Regions from separate parts of the Homo sapiens genome. Here region 2 is linked to region 1. Evidence: promoter capture Hi-C in human tissues and cell types (Jung and others, 2019). All regions are on one chromosome and are shown on one strand. The core of a region is centred on a gene start or on the middle of the fragment in contact, and the rest is flanking DNA. Distances in the headings are between cores, read along the strand shown. Region 1 holds the start of POLE3 (DNA polymerase epsilon 3, accessory subunit). Region 2 overlaps RGS3 (regulator of G protein signaling 3).

Evidence for each region. The method cuts DNA at HindIII sites, captures the fragments that hold promoters and counts their contacts. A contact is called where the count stands out against the background at its distance.
Region 2: a contact is called between a fragment that was not itself captured here and the fragment with the promoter of POLE3 in region 1, in 2 of the 25 tissues and cell types used here (aorta and pancreas).

What each region holds. Positions count from the first base shown.
Region 1 is chr9:113,408,977-113,414,979 of GRCh38, forward strand. POLE3 (DNA polymerase epsilon 3, accessory subunit) reads right to left here and starts at 1,699. Exons shown (of 5, transcript NM_017443.5): 1 at 1,641-1,699; 2 at 1,252-1,432; 3 at 1,079-1,164; 4 at 634-752; 5 at 1-7. The coding sequence starts at 1,317. C9orf43 (chromosome 9 open reading frame 43) reads left to right here and starts at 1,771. Exons shown (of 14, transcript NM_001278629.2): 1 at 1,771-2,025; 2 at 4,469-4,668; 3 at 4,783-4,918. The coding sequence starts at 4,518. RefSeq lists enhancers at 497-1,696, 599-1,498, 1,071-1,350, 1,591-1,780, 2,399-3,298. The HindIII fragment of the contact is 6,520 bases long and covers 1-6,003 here.
Region 2 is chr9:113,480,476-113,486,633 of GRCh38, forward strand. It overlaps RGS3 (regulator of G protein signaling 3), which reads left to right. Exons shown (of 23, transcript NM_001394167.1): 3 at 2,584-2,642; 4 at 3,663-3,757; 5 at 5,150-5,218. Among named protein-coding and RNA genes, the nearest start is that of RGS3, 20 kb to the left of the region's middle. The HindIII fragment of the contact is 6,557 bases long and covers 507-6,158 here.

The sequences.
Region 1 (6,003 bases), core at 449-2,948:
CTATATGCTGTAAGGACGGAACAAGGGGTTAGGAGACAGAGCTGAAAGTGAGCCAGACGGACTGCAGGAGCTAATTACATTGTACAATTGGAAAAACGGAGGCAGATGGGCGCGGTGGCTCACGCCTGTAATCCCAGCACTTTGGGAGGCTGAGACGGGCGGATCACCTGAGGTCAGGAGTTCAAGACCAGCCTGGCCAATATGGTGAAACCCCGTCTCTACAAAAATAAAAAATGAGCCGCACGTGGTGGCGTGCGCCTGTAGTCCCAGCTACTCGGGAGGCTGAGGCAGGAGAATTGCTTGAACCCAGGAGGAGGAGACTGCGGTGAGCTGAGATCCCATCACTGCACTCCAGCTTGGGTGACAGAGCAAGACTCCGTCTCAAAAAAAAAAAAAAAAAAACAAAAACAAGAAAAGCAAGACAAAAACAAAAACGGAGGCAGAGAAGGAAAAATAACTTGCTCAGCATTACAAAACAGATCTGAGGTGGTGCCCACCGAACTGGGTCGAGTCACATCAAGTGCTGGCTTACTGGACTTAAAGGGACCCGCGCTGAGAAGGCTCAGGGCCTGGTGAACAGGTCACACAGGATGACCATCTTCTATGTGGTTTAGAAGACAAGAGGCTCGTTACCTTCCAGAGCTTCTTTCAATGGGGTAACGAACCGCTGGAACTCCATCTCTTCCATGGCTGAGAGCACATCACTGGCATTCAGCGTCTTCCGCTTTCCTTTCATTGCAAAGTTGTTAGCACTGAGAGAAGAGAAAGGCTGTCAGACTCCCTCTTGTTTGTAAGGCGTGAGTGGGAAAAGGAGCACCCAGAGGTGGAACGGGAAAGCCTGCCTCTTACATGTATGGATTTTGGTGTGACAGGGATAAGTCCTTCCCTTCTCTGCACAAAAAAGCTAAAGCAAAGTGATTTTGTTGTGTTATTTTGCTTCAGAACTTGTAAAAACTGGCAGAGGACTGTGAACATGTCCCCACCGAGGGAGAACACAATCGTTGGGGTTTGTAGGCTCCCAGCCAGCAACTCCCAGCCAGGTATCCCCGCGCCTCCCTTATGCCTCTGTCCCGCTCACCAGGATGTGGCGTACAGCACGAAGACGCTGGCGGCGCGGGAGATGGCGCTCCGGGCCTCCTTGGAGATGTTGACACCGTCCGGGAGCTGCGAGGAGACCGGGGGTGAGCAAAGCTGCCGTTCCAGCACCTGCTTCCCTCCTGCCCGTTCGTCCGCCCCCCCCGAGCTGCTCACCGCCTCCTTGATGATCCTGGTGATCACGGCATTGGGCAGGTTTAGGTCCTCGGGCCTCTCCGCCATTGCCGCCGCTGGGGCTTAAACTCCCCTTCGCCTCCGCTTCAGGGAGCTACTGCGTCCGGACTTCCCGCGTCGCTACGGTCTGACCCTGCGAGGTTTCCGTTCCGCCCCACGTGGCCTACAGTGTCCCACAGTGCTCTGAGCGCCATAGCCTCCCTCCTCCCCCCACAGCCCCGCCTCCGCCTCAAATACCGGCGCATCCGGATTTTGAAGCCGCAGTGGTTTTGGCCCGCCAAGGCTTCCATCCAACCCTACCGCACCCCGCACGCCCCTCCCCAGGTCCATTTCTCTGCTTCTCGCCATCGCCGCGTCGGGAACCTTCTCACCAACTTATTTGGCTCAATGGAGCTTCCGTCCGTTTCCCATGGTGCCCTGCGCCGCTGCTGGGTGACGGCGCGGCCGGGCGCAGCGCGTGGGAGACGAAGGCGTGGCTGACTCGGCGGGGCGGATCCCTTTAGGACCCGAGGCAGGCTCTGGGCCCGCCGGGTCCGTTAATCTCACCGCGCCGCAAGGGGCCACGTTTTACCACTTGATTTAGCAACCCTAAGCGGTTTGGAATCTGCTTTGCTCTCACAGGACCTCAGCCCGTCGTGATCAGATTCTCCCACTTTCTTTTTTCTTTCCTGGAATGGAGTGGGCAGTCTTTTTCCATCTCTACCGAAGTTGATGTTCATTTTTAATCTTTTCGCCCCTCACGCTTTTGTAATAATGGTACTAAGACTGAGTGTTATTTAGATTTTATTGTTGTTGTTTGTGTTTAACGCGAACTATTTAGGCAGCCCAGGGATAATGCTGGCCATATAGAGATGCGCCTGATTAGGTCTCAGGAGTCAATTCGGACTGGGCAGGTAACGAAAGGGCGAGAAGCAGCCTTTTCACTGTATGAAGAATGCAACGTCACATTCGCTTTCAAAAACAAACCGTGTTAAAATTGTATTTATTTTTCAGTTAAATTGTTCATCATACATTTTTTCCAGTTAAAACCATTCTCAAGGTTTTGCAATGGCGTTTCTTTTTTTTTTTTTTTGAGACAGTCTCACTCTGTCGCCCAGGTTGGAGTGCAGTGGCGCCGATTTCGGCTCACTGCAAGCTCCGCCTCCCGGGTTCACGCCATTCTCCTACCTCAGCCTCCTTAGTAGCTGGGACTACAGACGCCCGCCACCACGCCCGGCTAATTTTTTTGTATTTTTAGTAGAGACAGGGTTTCACCGTGTTAGCCAAGATGGTCTCGATCTCCTGACCTCGTGATCCGCCCGCCTCGGTCTCCCAAAGTGCAGGGATTACAGGCGCCAGTCACCGCGCCCGGCGCAATGGTGTTTTAAGTTGTTTTTAAGTTATTTTTATATTAAGTTCGTAGAAATTCTCACTCCCACTGATTTTATTTATTTTTTAATTTTTAAAATTTCTTGACAGGGTCTCACTCCGTCCCCCAGGCTGGAGTGCAGCGGCACGGTCTCGGCTCACTGTAGCCTCGACCTCCCTGGCTCAGGTGGTCCTCCCACCTCAGCCCCAAATAGCTGGGGCTACAGGTGCGTTCCATCACACCCAGCTAATTTTTTGTATTTTTCGTAGAGACAGGGTTTCACCATGTTGCCCAGGCTGGTCTCGAACTCCAGGGCTCAAGTGATTCTCCCTCGGCCTTGCAAAGTGCTGAGATTACAGGCATGAGCCACGGCGCCCAGCCTCCCACTGAGAATTAATGCTGCTTTTTTTTCCCGTCAAGCATGCAGTCCCAAGTCGCCCTGTAGTTTTCCTGCTTTCGATAGAAGCCTGATTATAGAGAAATATTTTAAAACAAAAGAGCAAATGCTATGATAAATGGCAACTGAAAGTGTTTCAATTAGAGACCATAAGGTCTGGTGGGGGAACTCCGCTTGGATAGAACAGACCTGGCTGAAACCATCAGGGCTGCTCAGCGCTAGTCAGTTGCTCTTCAACTGGAATTGGGCTCAGTGTTGTCAAGTATTTTGGTCCCTAAAAGGACATTGTGGGCTATTTCAATTTTAAAATTGATTCAAATTTAAAATTGATTCAAAGTGCTAGCCAAACAAAACAAGTAATAGGCCAGGTGCAATCCCAGGCTGATAGTTTATCTTTGATCTAAATTATGAAACTGTTTAGAACAGGGAGTTTGTTTATTACTGTTCATGTCCAAAGCAGGTCCCCTCACATATTTAGTAATCAATAAATGTGTTGAATAAAAGAAAGAAATGGACACTGTCCTTAAAAAGTTCTTAGGAATAAGGTGGTAGTTAGTGATTGCCTAAAACACCTCTAGAAAGGAAAAGATGATAATATTTATTGAACACCTCCCATGAATAAAAGTACATTATCTCATTTAATGCTTCTGCAGTCCTACTTAGGGATTCCCTGCCTTCTGCTTATGTTATTTATTATTTTTTGTGGAGAGGGGGTAACTCATCTTGGCCTACCAAAGTGCTGTGGTTACAGACCTGAGACACCAAGTCAGGACCCCTCCCCCTACTTGAGAGAGAGGTGTGAAGACCCTTGTCAAAGGCCATATGGCCAATGAATGAAAAGCTAATGGCCTCTGATGCAACTAGCAGTGTCTAGTGATTTGCTATTTGAGCAAACACATTCATTGCTGGTGGGTATTTTATCTGCCTGCATGGGAACTGAAGCACATTGAAAAATGAAACATGTCTTCCAGAAGTTTGGGCCTTCTAAGACACTTCTGTGACTACTTTGGTCATAATTTGATAATGCTTTTTGGAGATGGTGGCATCTTCTCCCTGATGACTAACGAAGGGGAAAAGGAAAGGATGCAAATATTTATTTGGAACAATATGCCAGGCTTTTAATATCCATTAACTAATTTTTATAATGACCCTGTGAAATAAGCTTATCCTCATTTTACAGTGGAGGCAACAGGCTCAGACTGGTTAAGTCCCAGGTCACTCAGCTATTAAATAGCCAATTAGGAGACCTGAAGTCCTGCTCTCAAACTCTTGCCATTCTACTTTATGCTGAGCTATTTTCATACTTGCTTGTTATCCAATCTTTAATTATTTTGTGGCCATCATTTACCTATATAGGTTCAATAGAAATATTTTATACTGTGAGTTCAAATTAACATCTGGACTGTATGGCTAATGTATAATACTCCCTAATTATGTAGCTGTTGATTTTCCAGAGCACTAGAATGCTGCAGGGTTGGCCTTTGGCCTAAACCATTTCTAGCTATGGACTTGCCAGATGAGAGCCAGTGGGACGAAACCACCTGTGGCTTGGCTGTTTGTCAGCACCCACAATGCTGGGCAACTATCCGCCGCATTGAGAGGGGCCATCCTCGAATCCTCGGCTCATCCTGCAAAACTCCCCTGGATGCTGAAGGTGAATTAGCCAGCTTCTGTCCTCTCCCTCACGAGGTCCTTAACGTATTTATGTATGTGGCTCCCTTTCTCCAGGCAGCAGGTTAACATGTTTTCTTCTGGTCTGCCTTCTTAGATAAACTCCCAGTGCTCACCGTGGTAGACATCTTAGATTCCGGCTTTGCAGCTCATCATTTACCAGAATGTACCTTTACTAAGGCCCATTCTTTATTGTCTCAGAGTTCAAAGTTTTACTCCAAATTTCATGGCAGGTAAATTATCATGGAATCTTCCTTTACAGCCTATTGTCTCAAAATTCTGGATTATGATTTTCCTTATCCATTAGTATACTTTGAGAAAGCTAGATTAAAAAGAAAATACCAATTGGGTTAAAGAAGTGGTGAATAGGCAGTGGGAAACAGAAAGAAACCCTTCCTGCTTGTGCCCTAGGAATTGGTTAATTTGGGAGGTATATTGGTTCGGTAGGGCTGTTATAACAAAATACCATAGACTGGGTGCCTTAAACAACAAAATTTATTTTCTTGTAATTCTTGAGGCTAGAAGTCCAATATCAAGGTGTTGCCAAGACTGTTTGCTTTTGAGACCACTCTTGGTTTGTAGATGGTAATTTTTTATACCCTGTGTCCTTTTTATTTATTTTTTTTGAGACAGGGTCTCACCCTGTCACCCAGGCTGGACTAGAGTGCAATGGTGCGATCATAGCTCACTGCAGCCTCAACTTTCTGGGCTCAAGCGATCCTCCCACCTCAGCCTCCCAAGTAGCTAGGACTACAAGTGTGCACCACCACGCCTGGTTAATTTTTTTTTTTTTTTTTACTTTTATTAGAGACGAGGTCTTGCTTTGTTGCCTGGGCCGGTCTTGAACTCCTGGCCTCAAGTGATCCTCCTGCCTTGGCCTCCCAAATTGTTGGGATTACAGGCATGAGACACCATACTGAGCCCCTCTCCCTATGTGTTAACATGGTCTTCCCTCTGTGCGTCTGTGTCTTAATTTCTTCTTACAAGGACACCAGTCTTACTGGGTTAGGGCCCCCTCATGTGACTTCATTTTTACCTTAATAACTTTTTAAAAAACCATATCTCCAAATACAGTCAAATTCTGAAGTACTAGTTGGGACTTTAACGATGAATTTTGGGAGGACACAATTCAGCCCATCTTATCAGCATCTGTATGTACGGACAGAAAACCATCCATATATGCCATCTTTCTTTTTTCTTTTTTGAGACAGAGTCTCACTCTGTCACCCAGGTTGGAGTGCAATGGCACGACCTCTGTCTCCCAGGTTCAAGCAATTCTCATGCCTCAGCCTCCCGAGTATCTGGAATTACAGGCGTG
Region 2 (6,158 bases), core at 2,535-5,034, 74 kb after region 1:
AAAGAAAACCATACATTCCAAAAATAGCGATTGAGCATTAGCTCTGTGCTAGGGGCTGGGAACACCAAGGAGAAGCACCCACCCCTGTCTAGATGGTGTTGATGGGATGCCAGGGAAGACTTGGCGGAGGGGGTGATGCCCACACGGTATCCTGAAGGAGGAATGGGCCTGAGCCAGGCAAAGAGGAGCAGGGAGGGTGTGGCTAGCACTTCATGCACAGGGCTAGCAAGTGCAAAGGCCTGGGGGTCAGAGAGAGCAGGATGCATTTGAAGAGCTGTCTAGCATGGCTGGAGCACAGCACAGGAAGAGTTCATACTCCACCTGTTTGTCTGTCCATGTGTCCATCCTTCCATCCGGCACATGAATAGTTACATGAGTTGCTGTCATGGCCCCCACTGCCAGGACTCTTCTGTTTAGCCCAGAAGGCCCTGTCTATCTCTCCAGCCTCCCTGGCTCTTGCCGCTGACGGTACCCTCCACCTCCAGCTCTATCCAGTTACATGCACTCCCTTGAATACATCTTGCTTGCTCCTGCCTCTGTGCCTTTGCACCTGCTGTTCACTGTGCCTGGAATAACCTTTCTTTTGTTTTGAACCCCTTTTGAAAAATAACTCTCCACCTGCTCTGATTTTGCAAGAAATATGCCTGCCTTCATCATCATTAAGACTCAGGAAGGAAGGGTCATTTTGCCTTATTATTTCCCCCTCCAGGAATCATCCCCCTGACCCACCTGTCTGGGCTGGGTTTATTGCTTTCTCCTTTGTGTCTTTGTCACAGCCCTGACTATACTGTGCCACCTGTGTCTGGCCTCTCTGCCAGACTGAGAATGCAATGAGGACAGGGACTGGGTGTGGTTCATTGTCACTGCTGGCCAGAGAGACCCAGGAGGTCACCAGACCTGGGTCCTGCCCTCAAGAACCACGCCCTCGAGGGAAATGATGCACACAGGAACAGTAACCAGGATACTGGGCAGAGTAGACTAGTAGGCGCCTGGGTCCTCTGGTCATGGCCATGGGGGGCCCAACGTGAAGTTCCCAAGGAGCAGCAGAGGGGTGTTCTCTGCCTGCCAGGGCCTGACTCCAGCTGTGCAAACAGTTTTTGCAAAATGCATCTTGGCCTCCACCACTCCATTTGTCCTGCACAGTTTGCTTTGGCTTCACCCCAGTCTCAGGCCCTTCATCCCTTCCCACCGGTCCCCACTCCTTCCATTGGTTTCCCAGGCCTTGCACCTCAGACTACTGGGAGCACTGTCTGAGCCAAACCCTAGGGCTCAATGAAAACCAGACGTAAGGCTGGGTGCATTGGCTCACGCCTGTAATCCCAGCACTTTGGGAGGCTGAGGCGGGCCAATCACCTGAGGTCGGGAGTTCGAGACCAGCCTGACTAACATGGAGAAACCTTCTCTCCACGAAAAATACAAAATTAGCCGGGTGTGGTGGCACAAGCCTGTAATCCCCGCTACTTGGCAGGCTGAGGCAGGAGAATCACTTGAACCCGGGAGGTGGAGGTTGCAGTGAGCCGAGATCGTGCCATTGCACTCCAGCCTAGGCAACAAGTGCGAAACTCCATCTCAAAAAAAAAAAAAACAAAAAAAACAAGAAACAAACAAACAAAAAAATCCAGACGTAAAAGAAAATAGAACTGAGGCTCAGGTTCTATCAGGTCTATTGTCTTCTTTCTATAGACCTCAGGCAAATGGTGCTGCCTACTCTTGTGACCACACCTGCACCCACCCCACACCTCTCCCCTTGCCTTTATTTATTATTATTTTTCTTTAGCAAACATTTTTTGAGCAATTACTTATTTGCCAGGCACTCCTCTGAGCACTTCAGGCACATTACCTCATTTAATTGGAACAACTACCATGTGAAGTGCATGTTATTATCACTAAACCATTAAAAATGGCAAATTCTGTCCCATGCAAAGCAACTCACTCTAGCTTATATGGTGAGTAAGCGGTGCAGCTGGGATTCATGCCTGGGTCCGTCCACCCCTGAGGCCCCAGCTTGTGACTCCTGTGCTGTGCTGTCCGCCAGCCACAGCACGGCTCACGGCACACCGTGAGTGCCACGGCATGGCTCATGGCACATGGTGAGTGGCCCCTTCATTCCTAGAAGGCAGTCTTGTGTGGTAGAGCACTGAGCCGGGAGTCAAGAGACATGGGTTCCAAATCCAGCGGTCATTCCCATTGTTCTGTGATTGTGGGCAAGTTTCTTACTATCTTGGGTTCCCCTCGAAGCCTCATTTTCCCCATTACATGAAGGGTTAGATTCTATAAACTGTAGTTCTCTTCCAGCTGTAAGATTCAGGGAATTGAATGTACCTCGTAATGCATTGGTGAGGGTGCTGCCAGAGAGTGGAAGATGGTGGGAATGGCCTAGACCAGAGCAGGTTCATAGCCAATGGTGGTTATGCAGATTAAGGGCCTAGTAGCAGGGGCCATAGCCCTGCTACTCACAGATACGCTTTTCTTTTCAGGTCTCTTTATTCGTGTGGATGGATATGTCTATGTGTGTCTCTCTTTCTCGCTGTGTGTGTGTGTATGTTTCCATTCATCCACCCCAATGTCTGAATTCTCTTTTAGTTATAGAAGGTAAAGGCCTGATCAGCAAACAGCCTGGCACCTGTGATCCGTATGTGAAGGTATGTGGTGGGGCCGGAGATGGAGAGTGGGATATTGAGGGGCCATGTTACTGGGCTCAGTCCCAAGGTCCCAGCACACCTGTGGGGCTGGTGACCTTTGAGGAGGCAGTTGCCATCTCACTCATCTTCTCAATAGGCATTTATTGGGCCCAGTGCTGGGACAAACCCATTCCCTTAGCTCGGCTGGGTCCCTGGGGCTTCCTGCAACAGCCAAAATCTTAAGGGCGATCTTGGTCATCTATATAGGTGGGCAGTGAGTATGTGGATGGCTGAAATCCACAGGTAATCCCAAGACCTCTTGTGAAAAGCACCGTTTTCACCCACTTTCCCCCCAAACTAGGGGCAGGATGGCCAGATTTGGGCAGTAGAGTGGAGGGAGTGTCTCTGAGGGCTGGAAGATCCTTCTGGGTTGGGCTTTTGCTGTAAAGACAGGGTCCTTATAGGGGTGGGGCTCTACTTTCAGTGAGAGCCAAAGGCCAGGAGCTTCCTAAAGTGTGGCAGCTGGGGTTCCAGGTGCTGGCCCTCAGCATTCTTCCTGAAGCCTTCAGGCTGATCAGAAGCCCCTGCTGGCAAGGAATTTATCAGGAGCAGGGCTAGAACAGCCCTGGGTTGAGAACATGGATTTGGGGCCTTGGCAGAGGCTGACCTGGAGCCTTCGTGAAGGGAGCACTCAGCAGCTGCTGGGACCTTAGAAGAGAGGAGTCCTTTCGCTTCTGGGGAAACCACTCTGCTTGGGGGAAGAGCAGAGATGATAAAGTTGTACCCCAGCTCTGGCTGGGCCGTGGCTGCCTTTTTGGTACCACCCACCATGAGGCCCTGTCCTGGCATCTGCCTCCAATGTCTCTTGCCCTGGGCTCCTTGTTCCCTTGCAGCATCTGACAGGGGACTCTATTCTGTCCTCTGCAGAGGCTGACTTGAAGGACCCTGGGAAGCCTTTAACTTGGAGATGTGCAGAGTCAGCTGCTGGGCTTAGGTGGGCCATGAGATCCGCTAATCATGCTTCCTTTTTTCCAATTCAAGATTTCTTTGATCCCTGAAGATAGTAGACTACGCCACCAGAAGACGCAGACCGTTCCAGACTGCAGAGACCCGGCTTTCCACGAGCACTTCTTCTTGTAAGAGTCTGGTGCAGCTGGGCCCTAGAAAGGAGAGGGAAGGAGTGTTTATCTGGAAACAGCTCTGTTTGCCAAATCTAGAACTAGATCTATGCAAAAAAAAAAAAAAAAAAAAAACCAAAACAAAAAAAACCAGTGCCTTCTAAAGGATGTCTTTGTTTTCTCACTCACTTGTGTCCTTGCATCCCTGGCACCAGGCCCAGCAGCGAGGTCCACAGTGATAAGGTATCACTTGGCTAGCTCTCATAACTAAAATGCCCAGCCTGGGGCTGGCAGCCCATAAAAAGTGTAGGCAATTTCCCACTGTGCCTTGGGCCAAGCTTTCTCCTTTAGCCGAAGGAATTTTCCAAGCTGAAGGATGTTTTGCCTCCCTGCCCCCCTTTTTACTTCAACTTTCTAACCTCTCTGAGCCTTGGCTTCCTTATTTGTAAAATGGGGCTAATAATAGTAGCAACCTCAGAGAGCTGTGGGGTATAAATGGGACAGTATAACATAACACAGGGTACCAGCTATTATTGTTATTATTTCTTTCCCCAATCTCTGAACTCTGGGGCCAATGGGAAGGTAATGTACATTTTGTATTTTCCTATTAGTGAAAATTAATATTTTGGTTTTTCTCTTACTACATAAAGTAGTTTTGGTTATGATAGGAAAATAGAAAATATAGATGAGTAAAAAGAAGAAAATAGAAAACACCTATAGCCCTCCTACTCACAGATACGCCCTACTGTATTTCTTTTCAGACCTTTTAAGGTCCTTTTCAGACCTTTTCAGACCTTTTAATGTGTATGTTTGCGTGTGGGTGTGTATGTTTGCATGTGTGTGTGTATATGTCTGTGTGTGTATGTTTACAAAAATGGAATTTTTTTTTTTGAGATGGAGTCTTGCTCTGTCACCCAGGCTGGAGTGCAGTGGCACAATCTCGGCTCACTGTAAGCTCCGCCTCCTGGGTTCACGCCATTCTCCTGCCTCAGCCTCTGGAGTAGCTGGGACTACAGGCGCCTGCCGCCATGCCTGGCTAATTTTTTTTGTATTTTTAGTAGAGACGGGGTTTCACCGTGTTAGCCAGGATGGTCTCGATCTCCTGACCTCATGATCCGCCCACCTCTGTCTCCCAAAGTGCTGGGATTACAGGCATGAGCCACTGTGCCCGGCCCGAAAATGGAATTATTTTATAATAGCATGTTGTAACCTCCTTTTTGTCCTTAACAACATAATATAAACTGTTTTATGCATGGAGGTAGTCATCTCTTACTTTATTTGTAATATAGTTTATTTAACCAGCTGTTGACGTTACTTCCACATTTTTGGAATTATGACTGACTCTATGAGTCAGCTATGGCCTGGAGCTCAGCCCTTACTAACACTCCGATGGTCTGATTGATTTCGCAGTCCTGTCCAAGAGGAGGATGATCAGAAGCGTCTCTTGGTTACTGTGTGGAACAGGGCCAGCCAGTCCAGGTGAGGAGAGCTGCTGAGCTGGAGGGGGACTCTGCTCTGGGCTAGTGGGTGACAGCCAGGTGGCCAGCATACACCAGGGGTTCGATTAGTGCTTTCTGGATAAATGAGTGATAGTGGCAATACTAAATTGCAGAGGCTGCCCCTCCTTGAGTCTCCATCATTCCAGGTGTTACCAAGGACTGTGTTATCAATGAGCATTTGCTGAGCACTCGGTATCAAACAAGGCACTGTGCTGGTCACTGGGGAAGCCGACCAGCCTACACATGGAAATTTATTCTCAAGGTGTCCACTGTTCACGTGGGGACACCAGGCACTGCATGGAGAGAAATTACAATAACAACATGTACGTGCTCAGTTCTACAGGACTCTAAGCACCTTGAAAAACAGGACTATTTCTTTTTTAGTCATCACAGTACCTAGTGCCTGGCATATAGATGTTTATTAGATATTGGCTGCATGAAGAAAAGAATGACATGAGTAATAAAGGCCATCAGTATGGGAAGAGGGAGAGTTCACTGTGGTCTGAGATGATCAAGGAAGGCTTCATGGAAAAAGTGGAATTTTGAACTTGGGCACAGATGAAGAATAAGACAACTAAAGAAGAAGGTTGGAAATGGCATTCCAGGCAGGGCAAAGCATGAGCAAAGGCAAGGAGGCAGAAATACTCACTGTAAGCTAAGGCTGCCATGATGAGGCCAGGTAAGGGAGTATAGAAGTTTTGTGTAGGAGAATCCAAACAGGCTGATCTTGCAGGCAGTGCAGGACACAGGAGGGCTGAAGTGGCCATTAGTGACGGCAGTTAGAGCGGAGCAGGGGAGGAGTGCCGGGCAGGTGAGCATGAGAATTGGCTGTTGAGTGACAGCAATGCACTGCCATGGCCCACTGTTAGCGGCAGTGGCTCATTTGGCTGGTGCAGCCTAAGGAATCTGGGATACCCCAT